2 separate regions of the Homo sapiens genome follow, and region 1 is linked to region 2. The links are contacts of gene promoters, found by promoter capture Hi-C in blood cells and fetal thymus (Javierre and others, 2016). All regions are on one chromosome and are shown on one strand. Each heading gives the region's core, a stretch centred on a gene start or on the middle of the fragment in contact. The rest is flanking DNA. Distances are from core to core; before and after follow the strand shown.

Region 1 (5,629 bases), core at 883-3,382, 290 kb after region 2:
CCGGTGTGGTGGTACACAGCTGTAGTCCCTGCTACTCATGAAGTTGAGGCAGGGGAATCACTTGAGCCCAGGAGTTCAAGGTTACAGTGAGCTATGACTGCACCACTGCACTCCACCCTGTGCAACATGATACAGCATGATACTGTCTCAAAAAAAAATGCTAGGAAGTACCAAGTGTATGATTGCTCTATGCCAATCATCAAATAGAGCAGAGACCATCTAGCTCCCAACCAATATTAATGCCATCACCAAGCCAAGTAATTAGGAAACAGAAATTTGACTTGAATAGAGAACATTAAAAGCCATGATAAATAAAATTCAGTATGATTTGGATGAAATATTTAATGGAAAATAAAAACATATTCCAAACTGATAAGGTTAATCTGGAGAAATGTTTTAGCCATAAAACCCAAAACCGGATTTGAGTAAATACCGAGGTTCTTAGTTAAGTAAACACCTCCATCTTATGTAAACAGGTTTAAAACAAAAAAAATATTATTTTCTGATTTGGTTGTGTAATCGTGGGCCTCAGAGGAAAAGCTTCCTAACCCTTTTGTCATATATATATATATTTTTTGGAGTCTTGCTTTGTGGCCATGCTGGAATGCAGTGGTGCAATCTTGGCTCACTGCTACCTCCGCCTCCTGGGTTCAAGCAATTCTCCTGCCTCAGCCTCCCAAGTAGCTGGGACTACAGGCGTGCACCACCATGCCCAGCTAATTTTTGCATTTTGTAGAAATGTGGTTTCACCATGTTGGCCAGGATGGTCTTGATCTCTTGACCTCGTGATCTGCCCACTTCAGCCTCCCAAAGTGCTGGGATTACAGGTGTGAGACACCGCGCCCAGCCTCCTTTTGTCATCTCTTGATGGAACCTCAAAGAAGAGATCCTTGGGGGAAACTGAATTTCTTTTTGCTTCCTTCTTAAAAGTTCTTCTCTAGAAGAAGTTGTAACTGGGTAACAAGCTCTAAGTCCCTGGATCAGCCTGCAGGCAAGAGAGCTGGGTGAATTGACATTTAAGTTTTGACTTAACTTCAGGAGATTAAGGTTTCCAGCCACCTCAGGAAAAGCCATGAACTCTGTTCTTGCAGTGTAACATAGCTATCTGTGATGGGTAAGTGAAGCCATAAGCCACAGGCTCCCACCCTTGGACATTTTCCTGATTTTTCTTCATGACAACATATCTAGAAGACCCATCTACCAAATCCTGTTTAAGTAAAATGTACAATTTCCCATTTTGAATTAGTTGGATATATTGGGCCAGCTACAAGACTGCAAGCTCCTTGCTGGCAGCGTCTTAACTCTTGGAAACCTGGAGGTGGATTACAGTGTTATCTGACTTTTTAGCAAGGTCTCAACTATTTTAATCTACACAAAGACTCACCTTATTCCTTGACAAACTTTTGCTTATAATCATGTTTCTCTTCCCTGTGAATTGAAGCTTAAGGTATCATATTCCTTATAACAGAATAAAAACGTTTTGAAGAGGCCCAAACAAACAAAGAAAACCCTAGCCTGGTTCCATCACACTTGGAAGTGCAAGGATCTCAACTACTTTCTTTGAAGTTGAAATAAATCATACAAAAAAAAAAAAAAAAAAAAGCAAAGCAAAGCAAAGTAAGTGGTCTCCAGTGAAATACCTAACTGTACCTTAGGGTCTGGTGCCATGAAATGCATCTAAATAATTAAGTTTCACATATCTACAGGGCTCAAGAAGGGGGCTCATCCTCTGAATCTGAAGCAAGGTGTGCTATTGTGGGATTGCTGCTATATACTTCAGCAGCCTGCCTTTAGTTAGCAGCTCACTGGGAGAGTGAAATCCCTTAAGAGCTGAATCTCCAAAAGGAAAACCATAAAGTGACTCATTTCTCACGAGTATGACTCTCATATAATGTATAACTGTGAAGAATTTATAGACTAATCAGTTACTCTCCACTGTGAACTGTACAATGTTGAATGAAAGATGACTGTGCGCTAGAGTTCCCCACACTTACTACATTCATAGACTTGCTCTCTAATGTGAATTGTATGGATTTTCTCATGACTACTAAGAGTTATTCTCTAACTGAAGGTTTTTTCACATCGATTACACGTATGAGGTTGCTCCCCACTGTGAATTCTCTGATGTTGAATAAGGTGAGAGCTTTGTCAGAAGGATTTTCCACATTTGGCACATACATAGGGTTTCTCTCCAGTGTGAATTCTCTTGTGTTGGATAAGGGATAAGCATGCACTGAAGGATTTCTCACACTCATTGCACATGTAGGGTTTCTCTCCAGTGTGAATTCTCTGATGTTGGATAAATTGTGAATGCTGACTGAACGCCTTGCCACAGTCACTACATTCATAAGGTTTCTCACCAGTATGAATTCTGTGATGCTGAATGAGAGAGGAACAAACATTGAAGGCCTTCCCACATTCACTGCACTCATAGGGATTCTCTCCAGTGTGAATTCTTTGATGGTGGATAAGGTGTGCACTCTGGCTGAAGGCCTTCCCACAGTCACTGCACTCATAGGGCTTCTCTCCATTGTGTGTTCTCTCATGCTTAATTAGGGTGGATATCTGCCCAAAGGTTTTCCCACACTCATTACACTCATAGGGTTTCTCACCAATGTGACTCCTCTGATGCTGAATAAGGTGTGACCCCTGGCTAAAGGCCTTCCCACATTTGTGACACTCATAGGGTTTGTCTCCATTATGTATTCTCTGATGTTGAACAAGGGAAGAAAGCAAACTGAAGGCTTTATCACATTCATTACATTCATAGGACTTCTCACCATTGTGTGTTCTTTGATGGTGAATAAGATTAAAACTCTGGCTGAAAGCTTTTCCACACTCACTACATTCATAGGGTTTCTCTCCTGTGTGAATTCACTGATGCTGAATAAGATGTCCCTTTTGACTAAAGGTTTTCCCACACACACTACAACCATAAGGTTTCTCTCCAGTGTGAATTCTCTGATGCTGGATAAGGGATAGACGAGCACCAAATGATTTTCCACACTCATTGCAGATATAAGGTTTCTCTCCAGTGTGAATTCTCTTATGTTGAATAACTTGTGAGCATTGACTAAAGGATTTCCCACATTCATTACACCTATAAGGTTTCTCTCCAGTGTGAATTCTCTGATGGACAGTAAGAGTTCGGTTCAGGCTAAAGGATTTTGCACATTCATTACATTCATAGGGCTTTTCTCCTGTATGAATTCTCTGATGCTGAATGAGAAATAATTGTGTACTGAAGGCTTTGCCACACTCCTTACAGTCATAAGGTTTCTCTCCAGAATGAATTCTCTGATGCTGAATAAGGTTTGATTGTCTGTTGAAGGCTTTCCCACATTCTTTGCACTTGTAAGGTTTCTCTCCACTATGAATTCTCTGATGATGAATTAGATTAGAGCTATGACTAAAGGCTTTCCCACACTGATTACACTCATGATGTTTCTCTCCTGTATGAATTTTTAGATGTTGAACATAAGATGAATGTGTACTAAAAGCTTTCCCACATTTAATACACTCATAGGGTTTTTCTCTAGTGTGAATTTTACAATGCTGAATAAAGTATGAGTGAACACTGAAAGATTTGCCACAATCCTCACATGTGTAGAGTTTCTTACCAGTGTGGATTCTCTGATGTTTACTGAGGATAGAGGGCCAACTGAAAGCTTTTCCACATTCATTGTGCTCATAGGTCTTCTCTCCACTATGAAATCTCTGGTGCTGGTTAAAAGCTCTGTTCTGATTGTAAGTTTTTCCACACCCAGTACTCTCAAACCATCTCTCTGGATTATTCATCCTCTGATTCTCACTAAGAACTGAGCTCTGTCTGGGCACTTTCACTAACACATCTGTCTGATAGGCTCTTTCTCCTAATTGGAAACTCTGGAGGTTAATGAGGTCCTCATGTTGTTGCAAGTTTTCTACACTTGACACACTTGGATGGAGACTCTCCTCTCTAGACCCTCTAAGATGTTTGGCAGGATTTGAGTCTGTAATGCAGTTTTCTCCAACAGCATTGAACTTCTGGCCATTCTCTCTAGAGAGGGTTTTCACATACCTCATGGTAATTTCTCTGAAATTGCTCTTCTGGGAGAATGAGTTCTTAACTCCTTCTACTGCATATTTTCTCCAGCAATTCTCTAACTTTCCCTCAGTTTTACTCATCTCTTCAGTTTCCTTAAAAATATTCCTTACATGATCTTCTGATTTTGCTCTCTGGGATTCCAATTCTTCAGAAATGTCCTGCTTTGGAATCATTTCCTCTTTTTCAATCCTAGAATCACAGCCTGAAAGAATGAAAAAGAAAAAAAAAGTGAATCGCTTGCATTTTACTATGGAAGAAAGAATTAGAGAATAAACAGAAATATTTGTATCAAACAAATATCTTCTAGGATAATACTGATATTCAGAATGCAAATAAAAAAAAAAGCAACAAATATGACCCCATTGGGGAGAGGAAAAAGAGAAGCATGCTGGTAAAGCAATGAACACTGGTGTGGGAAGGAAGAAGGAAGGTAATATGCCCAAGGTCAAAGGCTTAAATCTGCAACCAGGCTGACCTTTCCTGGAGTAGGAAAGGCAAGATCTGAGAAAGGATTTGGGGAGAGTTACCAGGAGGGAGGAATTGGAGGCTGCCTCCACTATTCATGTCATTGCTGCATACTTTGTAAACAAGGTATCTTCTTATGGCTTACACATAGCATACTCAAATATTTGTTGAAAATAAATGATAAATGACTCATAATAAATGAGGTGTACATCAGTGCAATAGATGATGAAAAAAACTATTTGATCTAGACAACTTGGTTTCACAGAAGCAAATCAGGAAAAACAGAAAAAAGCAGCAACCTACTCAGGAAATAGCTTGGGCAGCACAAGGCAAAAAGGCCAAGTATAAACAACAGTCCCAAATCACACATTTCCAGTGAACAAAAGTGTCCAAAAATTTGTGAAAACTATAAAACTGAATTCTGAGACCCAATGAAAGGAAGCTTATTAAAAAGAAAAATCCAAAACCAACCAACAAAACAAATAAACAAACAAAAAACAAGCACTAAGTCACATAGATACAAAGACTGTGGGAAGGATAACTGAGGTCAGAACAGTAAGAGGGCAGCCCTGTGTTGAGATACCACAAAAGGACAATGGAATCTTCTTTTTGCAAATGGCGGTTATCATTAGTTATAATGGGATGCTCCTTGAGACTGCACTGCTTGAACAGGGAGACTGAGCTAAAAATACTAACTGGATGAGGCCTAAAATTGAGTTAAGTATGGCTGGGTGTGGTGGATCACGCTTGTAATCCCAGCACTTTGGGAGGCCAAACCGGGTGGATCACCTGAGGTCAGGAGTTTTAGACCAGCATGGCCAACATGGCAAAACCACATCTCTACTAAAAATACAAAATTTAGCTGGGCATGGTGGCGGGTGCTTCTAATCCCAGCTACTTGGGAGGCTGAGGCAGGAGAATAGCTTGAACTCAGGAGGTGGGGGTTGCAGTAAGTCAAGATTGTGCCACTGCAGTCCAGCCTGGGTGACAGAGCAAGACTCTGTCTCAAAAAATAAAATAAAATAAAATAAAATAATAAAATAAAATAAAATAAAACAAAAAGCTAAGTAATCGCAA
Region 2 (5,747 bases), core at 1,743-4,242:
ACCGAACAAAAAAATTAGCCAGGTGTGGTGACACACACCTGTAGTCCCAGCTACTTGGGAGGCTAAGGTGGGAGGATGCCTTGAGCACAGGAGGTCAAGGCTGCAGTGAGCCATGATCGCACCACTGCACTCCAGCCTGGCCAGCAGAGTGAGACCCTGTCTCAAAAACAAGCAAAAACTGGCTGGGCGCGGTGGCTCACACCTGTAATCCCAGCACTTTGGGAGGCCGAGGCGGGCGGATCATGAGGTCAGGAGATCGAGACTATCCTGGCTAACACAGTAAAACCCCGTCTCTACTAAAAATACAAAAAATTAGCCAGGCGTGGTGACAGGAGCCTGTAGTCCCAGCTACTCGGGAGGCTGAGGCAGGAGAATGGCATGAACCCAGGAGGCAGAGCTTGCAGTGAGCCAAGATAGTGCCACTGCACTCTAGCCTGGGCGACAGAGCGAGACTCTGTCTCAAAAATTAAAAATAAAAATAAAATAAAATAAAATATTCTTTTTTTTTTTTTGAGACAGAGTCTCGCTCTGTCACCCAGGCTGGAGTGCAGTGGCACAATCTTGGCTCACTGCAAGCTCCGCCTCCTGGGTTCAAGCGATTCTCTGTCTCAGCCTCCCCAGTAGCTAGGACTACAGGCGTGAGCCACCACACCCAGCTAATTTTTGTATTTTTAGTAGAGACGGGGTTTCACCATGTTGGTTAGGCTGATCTTGAACTCCTGACCTCAAGCGATCTGCTCGCCCCAGCTTCCCAAAGTGCTGGCATTACAGGTGTGAGCCACCGCACCTGGCCATTTTTCTCTAAGAACGTCTTAAAACAATCTTATATAATAATTCATCTAAGTATGTGAGGCTTGTCTCTCTTTTACCTTTATAAACATGTGTTCATCCAAATATGACCTCAGCTTTCTTGTGTGAGAAACCAGCGCCACAGACTTCCAGCTTAATGTAAACTTCCAGTTTACATTACATTGGCAGTGCTGGAGAAACTGAAGACCCACTGACCCAGCACATGCACCCCGGAAGCACCAGATCTTGGCAGTAATAACCATTCCTAACTTTCTAAAACACAGTGTGCCACGAACAAAGTGTTTCACAAGTCTTAATTTACTGAGTCCTCACAACAACCCTATGAGGCCAATATTATTAGTGTTCCCATTTTACAGATGAGAAGCCAAAGGCACAGAGACCTTGCCGAAGACCACAAAGCCAGTAAACAGAAGAGTCGCGACTCAGAGGCGGGCAGCCTGGCTCCAGAACCCGCCCTCCTGTCCACTCTGCTCCCCTGCCTCTCAGGAAGACAGCTGGCTACACCAAGTGCAGGGAGCGAGGCGCCACCCCCATTCATTCACTCCAAGCATTTATGGCTACAGAGCCTGCGCCCAGGGCGGTTTATGGAATGAGTCTCCTCGATTTACAGCCACACCTCCTATCAAATCGCCTTTCCCTCCCCCGGCGCGAGAATCGCACCTTGCTCCTTGTGGATCGGGCGCCGCCGACGGAACCACCTGCTGTCTATAGAGGGCACCTAGGACGCAGCGTCCAATTCCCCTCACTGGCTTCAAAAGACAAATCTCCGTATTGTTGTACCAGGAGGCACGAGAAGCCTCACCACTGTAGGTTTTTCAGCAGAGGTCACTGGAGGTCTGGTTAAACCCGTACAGCACTGAGGGGGAGGGGGCCCGGCTGCGTTTCCGAAGCTGCGCAGCGCCCACAGCAGCTGCTGGTGGGAAGCGGCTCGGAACACACCCACAGCTGCCAAGGAGCCGGCTGCACGTTTTAAAATAAAAAACGTCCTGGGCCCCAAAATGCACAGCCCGCCTCTCTCGCCGCCCTGGGCACGGAACGCCGCCTCCACCCACAGCACTCCAGCAACTGGGAAGCAACCGGGAAGCAACCGAGGGAATTCCAGCTCGGGGGGCAACCGGGAGGGGAAGGCTCCGAGCGCCGGAGCCCCAGCCCGCGCCTGCCGCAGAGGCGAGGCCGCAGAGCCCACCCGCAGGCGGCCATGACCCCACCTGGAGACGCCCATGTCCGCTCCCTGCGCCCCGGGGACAAAGCCCGAGGCTGCACCGCAGCGCACCGCAGCCCTGCACCCGGGCCGCCCTTCAGGACGCGGGCACCAGACCCGACCGGCGGGCATCCACCTTGTCCCCACTCCGACGGCGCCCGGGAATGCGGCCGGTGCCCCGAGCTCAGGCTGGGCACACGTGCACCCACACCCACCACGGGCGGGGTCCCCTCACACCCCCCTCGGGCAGGGGCACACTCACACCCATCTAGGGCCGGGCACACTCACACCTCCCTCGGGCAGGAGCACACTCACACCCCCCTGGGGCCGGACACACCCACACTCCCCTCGGGCCGGGCACACTCATACCCACCGTGGACAGGGGCACACTCACACTCACTCTGGACAGGGGCACACCCACACCCACATTGGGGCCGGGCACACTCACACCCACCTAGGGCAGGGACACAACTCACTCTGGACAGGGTACAGTCACACCCACTTCGGGCCGGGCACACGCGAACTCACCCACCCTCACACTCCCAGCCCGGCCCGTCGGCGCGCACCCGGGCCCCGCGCGGCCTCGGCCCCTCGAGCCTCCGCGCCCCCCGCCCGGCCGGGCCCCGCACACCCACGCCCCCTCCCTCCACGGCCCAGTCACAGCCCCTCCCGCCGCTGCAGTCGCCGCGGGCCTGGATTCCTTGCGCTGCCGGGCCTGGAGCCTCCGCCGAGGCTGGGCCAGGACCACGGGGACCGCAGCGCCGGCCCCTCCGCCATCTTCTTGGCCCGCGCCGCCCACCGCCCGTTGCCCGCGCTCTCACCGGCCGGCTGCGCGCGGGCCGCGCCGCCACAGTCCCTCATCCCGGCCCGCGCGACGCGCGTGAGCCAGCCGCCGCTCCCCGGCCTCTCTGCTGCTCCGCCGCTGCTGCCGCGGCAGCCCGTGCTGTCGGCGTCCTCCGCCGCCGCCGCCGGCCCAGTGCGCGGCGGCCGCGCGTCCTCCCGTCACCAAGCGCAACCCCCCGCCTCCGGCTCCGCCCCCGCGGCGGTCACTACCCGCCGCCAGGGGGCACTGCCTCGCGAGGCCGCATCACGCATGCGCTGGCGCGCGGCATGCCGGGAGCCGGAGTCCCGCGGAGGGCGCGCGCGGCATGCTGGGAGCCGCCTGGCCCCGCCCCGTCGCCGCGCCAGAGGCCTCCCGCGCGGACCTACCCTGTGAGTTAGCGGTGTCTTCCCGTCTCTTTCGGTGCAGAGCAGTTACCATCTGACACGTCTCGGTGTGGTTTGGTGTAATTTTGCCCTCTCAAACCACGTTGGGCTTCCCGAGTCTGAGATTTCACTTTTCTTCGACTCTAGAAATACAGCCATTCTTCTCAAAACGTGGGCTGCCCTGTTCCTCAGTCCTTCTTGTGGCGGGCTCGTGTCTCTTCACCTCCTGTTATTCTCACCTTTTTAGTCCTGTCACTTTTACTCGGTAATTCACTCAGCTGCAGCTCGACTAGTGCTCTATTCGGCGTTTTCTAATCTGCGTTCAGCCTGGTTTTCTAGATTCTCTTAGTGCCAGGTGCGTTTCTGGAAATTGAATCTGACTGGCATTTCTGGAGAAACGGAGGCTAAACAGCCTGAAGCTTCGATAGTAGAAGACAGGGGCGCACACCCTTCAGTCCTGGACATTCCCTGGGTCCTCAACTGTGAGAAGCCGCAAAGGGCTGAAAGGCCCCCGTCAAAAGTCATCCGTGGAGCTCCACCTCCTGCCCTGCAGCTCAGTCGCCTTGCAGGGACTCTCCCGCCTCAGGAGATCTCCCGTCGGGCTGTCTCGCCGCCCGCGCTTCCCTGTTGGGCCGTCGTCACACTTCACTCTTCACTCTTATACACAGGGCTCTGCTTTTTCGCCTCCCGCTCCCTCTCCACTGTATTCACTTAGAAAACCCAACTGGGCGAGCCCAACCCTTCTCCTCCATGACTGCTGAAGAAAATCACACATCCAGGCTGACTGCCTTCACCTTAAACTTGTGACAACACACTGGCGGCGAGCACTTCCCACCCCCGTGACCACACACTGGCGGCGACCATTTCCCACCCCTGTGACCACGCACTGGCGGCGAGCACTTCCCACCCCCGTGACCACACACTGGCGGCGACCATTTCCCACCCCCGTGACCACGCACTGGCGGCGAGCACTTCCCACCCCCGTGACCACGCACTGGCGGCGAGCACTTCCCACCCCGTGACCACACACTGGCGGCGACCATTTCCCACCCCCGTGACCACGCACTGGCGGCGAGCATTTCCCACCCCCGTGACCACACACTGGCGGCGAGCACTTCCCACCCCCGTGACCACACACTGGCGGCGACCATTTCCCACCCCCGTGACCACACACTGGCGGTGAGCACTTCCCACCCCGTGACCACGCACTGGCGGCGAGCACTTCCCACCCCGTGACCACGCACTGGCGGCGAGCACTTCCCACCCCTGTGACCACGCACTGGCGGCGAGCATTTCCCACCCCTGTGACCACGCACTGGCGGCGAGCACTTCCCACCCCGTGACCACACACTGGCGGTGAGCATTTCCCACCCCGTGACCACACACTGGCGGTGAGCACTTCCCACCCCTGTGACCACACACTGGCGGTGAGCACTTCCCACCCCGTGACCACACACTGGCGGTGAGCACTTCCCACCCCGTGACCACACACTGGCGGTGAGCAGTTCCCACCCCGTGACCACACACTGGCGGTGAGCACTTCCCACCCCGTGACCACACACTGGCGGTGAGCACTTCCCACCCCCGTGACCACACACTAGCAGTGAGCACTTCCCACCCCGTGACCACACACTAGCGGTGAGCACTTCCCACCCCGTGACCACACATTTACAGTGAGCACTTCCCACCCCTGTGACCACACACTGGCGGTGAGCACTTCCCACCCCGTGACCACACACTGGCGGTGAGCACTTCCCACCCCCGTGACCACACACTAGCAGTGAGCACTTCCCACCCCGTGACCACACATTTACAGTGAACACTTCCCACCCCGTGACCACACACTGGCGGTGAGCACTTCCCACCCCGTGACCACACATTTACAGTGAGCACTTCCCAACCCCGTGACCACATACTAGCGGTGAGCACTTCCCACCCCCATGACCACACATTTACAGTGAGCATTTCCCACCCTGGTGACCACACACTTAACTAATTAAAAATATACAAAATATTTATAGAGGACATTTAACTCTTTTTTTTTTTTTTTTGAGATGGAGTCTTGCTGTGTCACCTAGGCTGGAGTACAGTGGCGCCATCTTGGCTCATTGCAACCTCTGCCTTCTGGGTTCAAGCAATTCTCCTGCCTCAACCTCTTGAGTAGTTGGGATTACAGGTGCCCACCACAACTCCTGGCTAATTTTTTGTATTTTTAGTAGAAATAGGGTTTCACCGTGTTGGCCAGGCTCCTCTCAAACTCCTGACCTCAAGTGATTCACCCACCTCAGCCTCCCAAAGTGTTGGGATTACAGGCGTGAGCCACCACACCTGGCCAAGGACACTTAACTCTTTAAGGACTTAAAAAGAAAATCTAAAGTCCCCACTAATGGAGGGGGACCTGTGTGGTGGCTCACAGCTGTAATCCCATCGTTTTTCCAGGCTAAGGTGGAGGAACGCTTGAGATCAGGAATTCGAGACCAGCCTGGGCTGCATAAGGCAACCCCGTGTCTACAAAAAGAAATTTTAAATT

The links. Contacts are between HindIII fragments. The CHiCAGO score rates a contact against its expected background, and 5 or more counts as called.
Region 1: a contact is called between a fragment that was not itself captured here and the fragment with the promoter of ARHGAP39 in region 2, in 1 of 17 cell types (M1 macrophages). The highest score is 5.9, in M1 macrophages.

Annotation. Positions count from the first base shown.
Region 1 is chr8:144,974,265-144,979,893 of GRCh38, forward strand. It overlaps the pseudogene ZNF252P. Among named protein-coding and RNA genes, the nearest start is that of ZNF252P-AS1, 26 kb to the right of the region's middle. The HindIII fragment of the contact is 1,387 bases long and covers 1,440-2,826 here.
Region 2 is chr8:144,682,854-144,688,600 of GRCh38, forward strand. It overlaps ARHGAP39 (Rho GTPase activating protein 39), which reads right to left and starts at 2,993. Exons shown (of 12, transcript NM_025251.3): 1 at 2,833-2,993. RefSeq lists enhancers at 860-1,472, 1,473-2,085, 2,699-3,310, 4,497-5,369. The HindIII fragment of the contact is 8,721 bases long and covers 1-3,634 here.